4 separate regions of the Homo sapiens genome follow, and all the other regions are linked to region 2. Evidence: promoter capture Hi-C in 16 types of primary human blood cells and fetal thymus (Javierre and others, 2016). All regions are on one chromosome and are shown on one strand. The core of a region is centred on a gene start or on the middle of the fragment in contact, and the rest is flanking DNA. Distances in the headings are between cores, read along the strand shown.

Region 1 (2,700 bases), core at 144-2,643, 220 kb after region 2:
GGGCACCATCTAATCAGCTGCCAGCATGGCCAGACTATAAAGCAGGCAGAAAAACGTGAAAAGGCTAGACTGGCCTAGCCTCCCAGCCTACCTCTTTCTTCCATGCTGGATGCTTCCTAACCTTGAACATCAGACTCCAAGTTCTTCAGCTTTGGGACTTGGATTGGCTTCCTTGTTCCTCAGTTTGCAGATGGCCTATTGTGGGACCTTGTGATTGTGTGAGTTAATACTTAATAAACTTATATATATATATACAGATCCTATATATATATACACATCCTATATATATATATACATCCTATATATATATATACACACATCATATATATATATACACATCCTATATATATATATATATATCCTATCAGCTCTGTCCCTCTAGAGAACCCTGACTAATACAGTGGGGCTAACACTCATGAGTCACAAAAGAAATGAAAATGCTTCTTAAAATTTGTGTTTAAGAATTTTTATTAACTCTTTTACAGAACCTTATTTTTCAATATGAAAGTGTGTTTATTTTATATGATAGTTAAGCTAACAAACCCTCAACTATTCTTCATCAATAGTGCTGGAAAGTTTATATTATTAGGAAATCCTGTCTCTTTGGTTTTTTGTTTTGTTTGTTTGTTTGTTTTTTTAAGACTTCATCACTTAGGGAAAAGATTCAATCCCAACTTAGTGAATTGCACGCCTACTATGGCAGGACTGTAATAACTGAAGCTTTATCATGAAAGAACATCCACGCTTCAACCACGAAAGAACATAATGCTTCAGACATTATTGTTTCTAGAATGTACATTGTGCTGCATTCAAGAGAATCTAGAAATATCTATTCAATAAGAATATTTTATATCATGTTCAGGCAGCTTCCTTATTAATGTTTGCATTCATTTTATTTAAAAATAAGTTGCAAGCTTGATTTCAAGGGTTATTTCACTTTTAAGTAAGTATAGAGTCCATTGTCCAGGCCCAAGATGAATTGTTTTCTGATTTTCCTTTTTATCAGAATTTGATGTTCTGGCTGAGTAATTTCTTTAAGAGATAGTCTTCATCAACAGTATCATCTTACTTCATATTTTTCACATAGAAATATTTTCTTCTTCTCTATAGATTGTTCTCTGTGCCCAGATTTCAGTAAATGGCCATGGGTTTATTGGTTAAAAGTTAGTCATTCACCTCCCTATATTATGAAGGGGGTAAATAATTTTTAAAATAATCTGTTTTTGTTTTTTTTAAAAAAATGCTTCCTAGTGATTATGTGCCAGGTTTTGTCTTTCAAAGACATTTAAGGTGGTACCAGGAGCATAAATGCGGTCAAAATTCTACCTCTGAGTCAGAAACTTTCCAATGAATCCCTTTTTCCTTAATATAGTTAGAATTGTTTCTGTTGCTTCAGACAAAAACAACTGTCTCATGTTCCTTCCAGTCTTACAGAGTTTATACTCTAGTGGAGAATATGGATAATTAAACAAGTATAATAAGATACACTGTGTGTTCAATTTTGAAGCCCACAGTTTCTCTTCCACAGAAATTTACATTCTTTTCTCTAAAGACAGAGAGAGGCAAAATCTGCAGTGCCAGAAAACCTTAAGGCAGACTTCAAGACTGTCCGCACATCCTGAGACTCAGTGTAGAAACCATGGATCAGGTCCAAAGTCCCATCTGATTCTTGGTTTCTATCAGCTTCCTTCCTGCATGTTCCACCACCTGAGACAGGCCACCCCATACTGGGGTCAGCTGTGACTTTTAGGAAGTCCTTCTTTATGTTGAGCTGAAATTTGTCTTCCTGAACTTCCTGTTCTTGGTTCTAGTTTTAACCTTTGTAGACTGAACAAGTCTAACATGTCTTCCTTTTTCATTCAACAAAGCTTGCTGGGTGTCTGCTCCAGGTCAGACACTGTGCCAGATTGTGCCTAATGGGCTGCATTTTCCACAGGGTTGGGAGGGAGGATACTGACATTAGCCAGTCTATATATAGATACATATATATATTTTTTTTTTCTAGACGGAGTCTTGCTCTGTCACCTAGGCTGGAGTGCAGTGGTGCGATCTCGGCTCACTGCAACCTCTGCGTCCTGAGTTCAAGCAATTCTCCTGCCTCAGCCTCCCGAGTAGCTGGGATTATAGGTGCCTGCCACCACAGCTGGCTAATTTTTGTATTTTTAGTAGAGATGGCGTTTCACCATGTTGGCTAGGCTGGTCTCAAACTCCTGACCTCGTGATCTGCCCACCTCGGCCTCCCAAAGTGCTGCAATTTCAGGTGTGAGCTACCCTGGCCAGGCAGTCTTTAGAAGGGAAACAAGAGCTAAGAAGTCAGAAAGCCATGGAAGCATGCACCAGTGGACTAGACCTGCATCTCTCCTGGGAGCCAGGGAAGGTTTCTCTAATAAGTGATGTTTAACCTGAGCTCCCAAGGATGAGTGGGAATTATCTAGGCAAAAGGAGAGGAAGGGAGAGTCTTCCAGCAGGGGAGAAAACAAGTGCCATGGCCTTGGAGCAGGAAGAAGCAGGATGTGTTCAATGAACTAAAAGAAAGCCAATTTCACGGAGGTGCAAAAGCAAAGTAGAGAGACATGGGAGGTGAGGCTGGAGAACAAGGTGGTGATTCTGTCATGCTGGCCCTTGTGTGCCATGGTCAGGGCTTTTGAATGTCATTCATTTGTTCATTCGTGAATTCATCCACTCATTCAATTGATGTTT
Region 2 (2,823 bases), core at 187-2,686:
TTTGAATAAAAATGCACAAATAACATAAGACACCTACACTGAATGACTTTTATGTACTATCAAAGGAAAAATATGAGTATAGAGATATGGAGACACAATTAGGATACCTCAGTGGTAGACAAAAATTATGTTTTTTTATGTCTTAAGGAAAGCTGCTTACAGAGTTACAAAGTTCTTATTTGTAGTGAGCAATAGAATTAACATTTGTCATAGGAATTGAGAATTTTAGAGATAAATTTTATTTTAACATATATATGAAATATGAAAATCAAAATAAATAAAATATATGTAATTTTCTGTATGCCCTGACAGAGATCTAAGAATGAGGAAACGTTTCATTTACTAAATTGAGGATTGTAACATAAAGAATAGGGTAGAATTCAAACAGAAGTCATAAAATTGATTGTGGCATCTCCATTCCTGGCATTTATTTTATTTTTTCCTTTCTTTCTAAATCCGAGAGAGGAAATGGAGTACCACTGGAGGATAATAACTTGACAAAACTATAGGCATTAATAGGCAGAAATCCATTTAATCAAATTTGTGTGAAAATAAGATAGTTAAGAATATTCGTGTGTCAAAATAACTTTTTAAAGTATCAAATTATTCTCTAACGTCAGATTTTTTGTGTTTGTGAACATTGTTTTAAAATTTCTAAACTTCTTTATGATACAATATTGAATTTAATATCAGTAACTCAATTTATTAATAGCATGGAATTTTTTTAGAAATGTTTGTTAAAAGTTGACTGGACTTTAGAGGGGAAACATCCTCAAGGGCACTTTAAAAGTAGCTTGTATTATATATTCTGAAACTCCATTTCATTATTCACTGTATGAAATTATGATAATATTGGAATAGGCATGCTGATAATGTGCATGTTGTAGTCAAATGACTATTCATATTAGTTCAGATGTAAATAGCTCAGTTCTGCACTGTTTCTCAGCAGAGCAATAAATAACAAAATTAAGTCATTGTTTTTGCATGGAGAAATTAACCACTACTACCAAATATGGTAACATAATTGGAAGATTTTTTAATTGGCAGAAATTCACATTTGAAAAGCAAAATAAAAGTGAAAGATAAATTTAAATGACAAACCAGTAACCAGGATCAAAGATGAATATGACCTTTTTCATTTCAAAGTTGTCTCATTTTTCCTGTCACTAAATGGATAAGCATTTATAAATTTAAGCACTTTGTCATGTCATTTTATTGCCTAAGATTGAACTGATATTCATAAAATTAACTCATTTTAAAAGTTCAGATTATAGAAATTATAGGAATTAAGAATTATAGAAAGTAAGAATTACCAAAGTCAGCGAAATCTGTTTCTTACCTTGGCAGCTGTGATCATCACAGTATAGAGTATTGTGTTGTATGAAGTCTTACGGGTGTTTAGCTGGGGAGTTTTCTGACTCTGTCACCCAGTTTATGGGAACAGTTGCAGTAGGTGGAGGAGAAAAAGTGTTCTAGGGAGGTCTTATGATGTCACATAGGAATTCTGAAGTTTCGATTGGTTAGCCACAGTCTCAGTCTTATCACAACCAAACTTTAGAACTTCTTACTTTAGGTATGGAAAAGTCATTAACACTTTGTGCTTCATCTTTTGTTTTTAATTTAAAACAGTATATGGTAGATAAATGAAAAAAATAAGTAAACTTGAGGTGGTGGAAAGCTTTTGTTAAAGATTCATGCATCTTCAGGCTTAGAGATAATTGAATATTAATGGTGAAGATGTTGAAGAGCTAAAATAGTTACTGCAGGAATTTTAATTATGAGAAAAATAAACACAGGTATAAGCAAAACAACTTTCATTGAATTCTTGCTGCTGTTGCTTTAATACGTGTCTTCATAATGTTAGCTTTTAGTGAAAGTGAAATATTTTTACACAATAAAATTTTATACCTGTTTTCTTATTTTGTTCTTGTTCTTGTGTGTATGGGAGAAGGAGTATGAGAAAATCAGGCTAATTGCTTTTTGTTTTAAAAAATTATTTTTATCTTACAGTTAAAGAACTAATAAATGTATTTAATTCATTTGTGTTTTCTTCAATTAGCAGTTTAACAATATATTTGTGAATAGTAATACTTATATTTAAACTGATACATACAACACCCCCAAAATAGCAATATGCTACTTTAAGTATTTAAGATTTTTTAAAAACAATTGCATTAAATTATTACACAATCTTACCAAATTTTTAATAAACTGATGCAGTATTAAGGGCAACTTTATGGCAAAAAAGAAATAATTACAGATTCCAAATCAGTTACATCTCAGTTAATGAGGCTTTATAGGTTTGATGTGTTGAAATTTAAGTTTTGTAATGTTTTTGAAAGGATGTGCCTCATTTAATCTAGCAGTTGCTTTCCTGAAAATTACTATAAAAATGAGATGCTAGTAAGTGAGATGATATTTTGAACTTCCTAGAACAGTTTATCTTACAGTAGAACTGGGGAAATAATTTTTTTGTAAAGCCGGGCATCATTCTCCTCTTCTCTGTTTATCTAATTTGTTGTCTTAGATGTTAGATTTACTTAAGTCACCACACTCGAAAATATTAATTCTTAAATCTCTTCTTTAATTTTAGAGGAGGTACTTGTAATTTTTAATTTTTTAAATGCTTATGACAGAGTGAACTTAGCCCACTTCACTTTCTTATGGGTAACTAAAATGTGTAGCAGCAGCTGCTTACATGCCCTTAAATGGAAATGATCTTGGCTTCTTCCAAAGAAAGAAAATCCATCTCTAGAGCAAATCATTTGATATTTAAAGAGTCAGCTTAAAACTAACTGAAAAATAATATTTTAGCAAAGATAT
Region 3 (2,817 bases), core at 108-2,607, 240 kb before region 2:
GATCTTGGACCAGGTTTGCTCAGAAAGAACTAGGCCCACAATTGAAAGCTGCCTCTGGTTCAGATGGGGGAGAAGAGGTAGGGGTTGGCTGAGAAGGCTGGCAGGGTAGAGTCTCGACTGAAATCTGCCACGTATGGCCCACAATCCATTTCATGCCCTAACACAAGGGGTATTATAAGTTTTGAGTATAAAAGAAAATTATGGGCCGGGCGCAATGGCTCACACCTGTAATCCCAACACTTTGGGAGGCCGAGGCGGGCGGATTACCTGAGGTCAGGAGTTCAAGATCAGCCTGGGCAACATGGTGAAACCCTGTCTCTACTAAAAATACAAAATTAGCCGGGCTTGGTGACACATGCCTGTAATCCCAGCTACTTGGGAGGCTGAGGCAGGAGAATCGCTTGAAACTGGGAGGCAGAGGATGCGGTGAGCCGAGATCACGCCATTGCACTCCAGCCTGGGCAACAAGAGTAAATCTCTGTCTCACCAAAAAAGAAAAAAAGAAAATTGTGATTATAAAATACAATTTTAAAATAGACATCTCAATTCACCTCACCACACATATAAAGATACGTTTTACATTTTTATGGCGTGTCAACACACTATTCACTTCCCTTATGAGGGGAATGCATAAGCACCCTTTAAGCATTTTAAGGGAAAAGCTTGAAATTATTGTAATAAACAGAGGGCTTTCGTGTAAAAAGCATTTATTTGATCTTCACAAAAGCTCCCTGCAGAAGGTATCATTATGAACCCATTTTAAAGAAAGGGGAACCGAAGGGCAGAAAAGAAAACTTGCCCAAGATTACATAGGTGAGAAGCGGGTTAGGGTCTGACACATATGATCTGACTCCAGAGAAGGTGCCCCTAACGATGCATTCCATTGTCTCTCCTTGGAAATCTCACCTCCTCTTCATCATTATGCAATGAATTTTGTCCCCCTGCTATAGTTGGGATGTTTGTCCCACCCAGATCTCATGTTGGATTGTAATCCCCAGTGTTGGAGGTGGGGCCTGGTGGAAGGTGTTTGGGTCATGGGGGCAGATTCCTTGTGGCTTGGTGCTGTCCCCACGATGGTGAGTTATCATGAGATCTGATTGTTGAAAAGCGTGTGGCTCCTCCCTCCCCTTGCTCTCCCCATGTGGCATGCTGCTTCACCTCTGCCATGAATGAAAGCTCCCTGAGGCTTCCCCAGAAGCCAAGCAGATGCCTGTGCCATGCTTCCTAAACAGCCCGCAGAACTGTGAGCCAATTAACTCTCTTTTCTTTATAAATTACCCAGCCTCATGTATTCCTTTATAGCAATGCAAGAATGGTCTAACAACTCCCTCCTTCCCCGCCACTTCCCTAAATTAATACATTGAAGTCCTAACCCCCAGTACCTCAGAATGTGACTGCATTTGGAGATAGGGTCTTTACAGAGGAATTAAAGTGAGGTCATTAGGGTGGGCCCTGATCTAATATGACTGGTGTCTTTATGAGAATAGGAGATTTGGCACAGACACCTACAGAGGAAAGACTATGTGGTATGGTTTGGCTGTGTCCCCACCCAAATCTCACCTTGAACTGTAGCTCCCACAATTCCCATGTGATGTGGGATGGACCCAGTGGGAGGTAATTGAATCATGGGGGCGGTCTTTCCTGTGCTGTTCTCTTGATGGTGAATAAGTCTTATGAGATGTGATGGTTTTATAAAGAGGAGCTCCCCTGCACAAGTTCTCTGTTCCCTGCTGCCAAGTAAGATGTAACTTGCTCCTCCTTGCCCTCTGCCGTGATTGTGAGGCCTCCCCAGCAATGTGAAACTGTGAGTCAATTAAACCTCTTTCCTTTATAATCACCCAGTCTTGGGTATGTCTTTATTAGGCATGTGAGAACAGACTAATACACAATGCGAAGACACAGGAAGAAGACAGCAATTGTAAGCCAAGGCGAGGGGCCTAGAGCAGCTCTTTCCCTCGCAGCCCTCAAAAGGAGTGATCCCTGCCAACACCTTGATCTCAGACTTCTAGCGTCCCAGCCCGTGAGAAAATGAATTTCTGGAGGTGAAGCTTCCCAGGCTGTAGTACTTTATTATGGCAGGCCTAGAAAACGAATTCATTCACAGACCCCCAGTTAAGAAGAAGCAGGAGGAGGAGGCAAAAAACAAATTACTCTTTTAAGTGAATTCATCTCATGTTAAAATATAAAATATGTGAGAATGTGTGCATTTCATTAGATATGGGGAGCTTAATTGAATCATCTTTTAAAAGAAATAATCGGAATTTAGTTCTATAATAAGAGTAAAATCAAGAAAGCAGGAAAAGTCTGAATTTATATTGATGTAGTACCCTTGAAGTAGTATCATAGACCGGAAACAGCAGCTTCATTAAGGCCAAAGTGTGTTTGTTAATTAGCTGTGGTCCTCTCCAGTGAGCCGACCAATAGATGCCATCAATGATGAGAGAGCATGGACTTATTGACGAAAAGATGAAGTCAGTTGGGCATTAGACACACATGTTTCCTCCGAGGGCGGCAGTACTTTCATTAATAATGAATTCTGTCTTTCCTTATGTCTTCTGAGCTTCCCACTAATGCTGGAATTATTAGTGTGAAACATGAGGCCTTCCGGTAATTATAGGCAATTCAGAGAGTCTTAAAAAGTGTGATCATGTATTCCAGGGAAAAACAATGTCCAGCATTTTTTTTTAAATAAATTTCAACTCGTGTGTTTAGTACCTTCTACATGCAAGGTGGTGAAGTGCTGGCTCTGGAGGCTTTATTGTGTTTAGGATTCTGAAAGTGCTTATGGCCTGAGGCCCTGAAGAGGTCTGTATTCTG
Region 4 (2,700 bases), core at 106-2,605, 220 kb before region 2:
ACCAACCTGGGCAAGGTGGTGAGACCCTGTCTCTAACAAAAAATGAAAACTTAGCTGGGCATGCTGGCACATGCCTGTAGTCCCTGCTACTGAGGAGGCTGAGGTGGAAGAATCACTTGAGCCTGGGAGTTTGAGGCTGCTATGCTGTGAGCTGTGGTCATGCCACTGCACTCCAGCCTGGGTGACAGAGTGAGATCATGTATCAAGGAAAAAAAAGAAAGAAAAGAAAGTTGAACGCTCAGACTCACTAGAGACCACACAGGCATTGGGATAAGTCAGCACCCAAAGTTATGCAACTAGATACAAGAGGGAGTCTCGTCACAGCAGTTATGTGCAATGGGGAGTGCGGGGGCAGAGAGGGGCTGTAGATGGGACGGCAACAAAGAGCCCCTTCACTCTAGCTGTAGGGCCAGAGGGCTTTGGAGCTGGAGGCGAATGCTCTGGATCTTAGGGTGACAGGGTGATCAAAGCCCTGTTCAGCAAGACGCCAGTGGGAATTGTGACATCTGATCCTTCCCACCGGAACCTACCTTTTTGTTTGGTTTCTGTACGTTATATTCCTTATCATCTCACTCAACCTCTTTGTTTGGCCTCCTTTATCTTTCTAGATTATCTCTCTTCACTCTAACTTCATCTGTTTTTCTCTGTAGATTCTCCCTCCTTAGAGCGTTCCCACCTTCTTTATTCACTATGTTCTGATGGCTCTGAAAACACCATCTCCAGCCCTGCCATGCACCTACGTTCTGATTCCTTAGCTTGAACAGCCTCCTGGACCATTCTTATGGATATTCCACTGTCACTTTATCAGGCCCACTGTGGACAATCAGCTCTCACAGCAGATGCTTATGGCGAGGGTGCCACAGTCGAACTGAAATATGGCATAACCTTCCGGTTCCTACCATCTTGATACAAGGGATGGTGTTTTTCAGGTCCAAGCTTTGAAGGTGTGTGGTCCTTTTAACTAGGAATACAATCAGTACACTAGAATCAGCCTTTCTAAGGGATGTTACCTGTCAAATAATTGCTAGATAGTTGGAGTTAAACACCATGGAAGAGGCTGAGCGGAGCTGCTAGTTCTGGGACCTCCGGGCCTGGGCAAGGTTATCTTCCCAGCAGCTCCAACCACTGGCAGGGGATGAGTACTTTATTTCTTTGATCCTCTGCTTCTTGAACTCTCAACTGAGAGCGTCTGCAGATTGGCCAGTTCTCATTTATCTAAAAATCTGCTGGCCCCCTTCTTGTTGGCCTAACATAGAGCTTTGGAATTGCTTGGTTGCCTTACTGAATGTGTTCACCTAGGATAGGATATTCCCAAGTGGGATCATACAGTGGTTGCCTAGTATTTCACCAAAATTCTCCTATTTAAAACATTTTACAATCTTTTGTAAAATGGGTTTTACACATTGAGGCACACATGAGGCACATCAGGAGGGCAAGTACTTTCTAAAGCATTTCATTCAACTACCTTGGTTCATGCCTGCTCCTAGTCCCATCCCCGTCATCGAGACAGGACACAGTCCTCCAGTCAGCTCAGTCTTTCATCACTGATTCTTGGCACAGAGAGGGTCTTATCGCTGGTTCCTTCAGATGCCACAAACGTCCTCTCTAGCCTCCTTTCCCCCTAACACTATCATTCTAGTCTAGCGCCTCACCCCATACCTGGGCTCTTTAGTAAGTTCCAATAATATGTGCGGAGTGCCTACCATGTACTATGTTGAACACAGAGGGAGGATGCAAACTGAGTCAGTTAGGACCCCAGAGCAGGGAAGCTTATCTAGACTTACAAATAACCAAGTAGATAAGGTGTGGGAGGCAGAACAATGGCCCCTAAAGGATGTCCACATCTTAGTTCCCAGAACCTGTGACTATGTTTCTTTGCATAGCAAAAGCAACTTTGCAGATGCAATTAAATCAAGGAATTTGAGATGATGAGATTTTTCCTGAATTATCTGCATGGGCCTAATATATTCACAAGGGTCTTTACAGAGGAAAGGCAGAAGGGCCCAAGTCAGAGAAGGAGATGTGATGACAGAGACAGAGGTCGACGTGATAAGGGGACATAAACCAAGGGATAGAGGCGGCCTCTAGAAACTAGAAAAGACAGAGAAACAGATTGTCCCTGAAGTCTTCACAAGGAACCAGACTGTTGCCCCATTGTGGACTTCTGACCTCCAGAACTATAACATAAATAGTGTTGATTTAAGCTACTGAATTTGTGGTAATTTGGTTGTTTTTTTGTTTTAAAATTTCAGCTTTAATTTTAGATATGGGGGGTACCAGTGTAGGACTGTTACATGGGGATATTGGACCCAGGTAATGAGCATAGCACCCAACAGTAGTTTTTCAATCCACGCCCCTCTCCCTCCCTCGTGCCTCTAATAGTCCACAGTGTCTATTGTTCCCATGTTTATGTCCATGTGTGCTCAATGTTTCACTCCCAGTTACAAGTGAGGACATGTAGTATTTGGTTTTCTGTTCCTATGTTAATTTGCTTAGGATAATGGCCTCCAGCTCCATCCACGTTCCTGCAAAGGACATCATTTCATTCTTTTTTCCATCTGCATAGTATTTCATGGTGTATATGTACCGCATTTTCTTTATCCAATCCACTATTGATGGGCACCTAGTTGATTCCATGCCTTTTTTATTGTGAATAGAACAGCAATGAATATACGAGTTCATGTGTCTTTTTGGTACAAT

Evidence for each region. The method cuts DNA at HindIII sites, captures the fragments that hold promoters and counts their contacts. A CHiCAGO score of 5 or more calls a contact.
Region 1: a fragment that was not itself captured here is called in contact with the fragment with the promoter of PLN in region 2 in 1 of 17 cell types (endothelial precursors); the score reaches 5.1 in endothelial precursors.
Region 3: a fragment that was not itself captured here is called in contact with the fragment with the promoter of PLN in region 2 in 3 of 17 cell types (activated CD4 T cells, naive B cells and total B cells); the score reaches 8.4 in activated CD4 T cells.
Region 4: a fragment that was not itself captured here is called in contact with the fragment with the promoter of PLN in region 2 in 1 of 17 cell types (activated CD4 T cells); the score reaches 5.1 in activated CD4 T cells.

Annotation. Positions count from the first base shown.
Region 1 is chr6:118,327,665-118,330,364 of GRCh38, reverse strand. No RefSeq gene overlaps it. Among named protein-coding and RNA genes, the nearest start is that of PLN, 220 kb to the left of the region's middle. The HindIII fragment of the contact is 954 bases long and covers 917-1,870 here.
Region 2 is chr6:118,546,909-118,549,731 of GRCh38, reverse strand. It overlaps PLN (phospholamban), which reads right to left and starts at 1,436. Exons shown (of 2, transcript NM_002667.5): 1 at 1,340-1,436. All of the region lies in intron 3 of CEP85L (centrosomal protein 85L), which reads left to right. The HindIII fragment of the contact is 6,726 bases long and covers 1-1,680 here.
Region 3 is chr6:118,790,697-118,793,513 of GRCh38, reverse strand. No RefSeq gene overlaps it. Among named protein-coding and RNA genes, the nearest start is that of ASF1A, 100 kb to the left of the region's middle. The HindIII fragment of the contact is 1,386 bases long and covers 665-2,050 here.
Region 4 is chr6:118,765,734-118,768,433 of GRCh38, reverse strand. No RefSeq gene overlaps it. Among named protein-coding and RNA genes, the nearest start is that of CEP85L, 120 kb to the right of the region's middle. The HindIII fragment of the contact is 833 bases long and covers 939-1,771 here.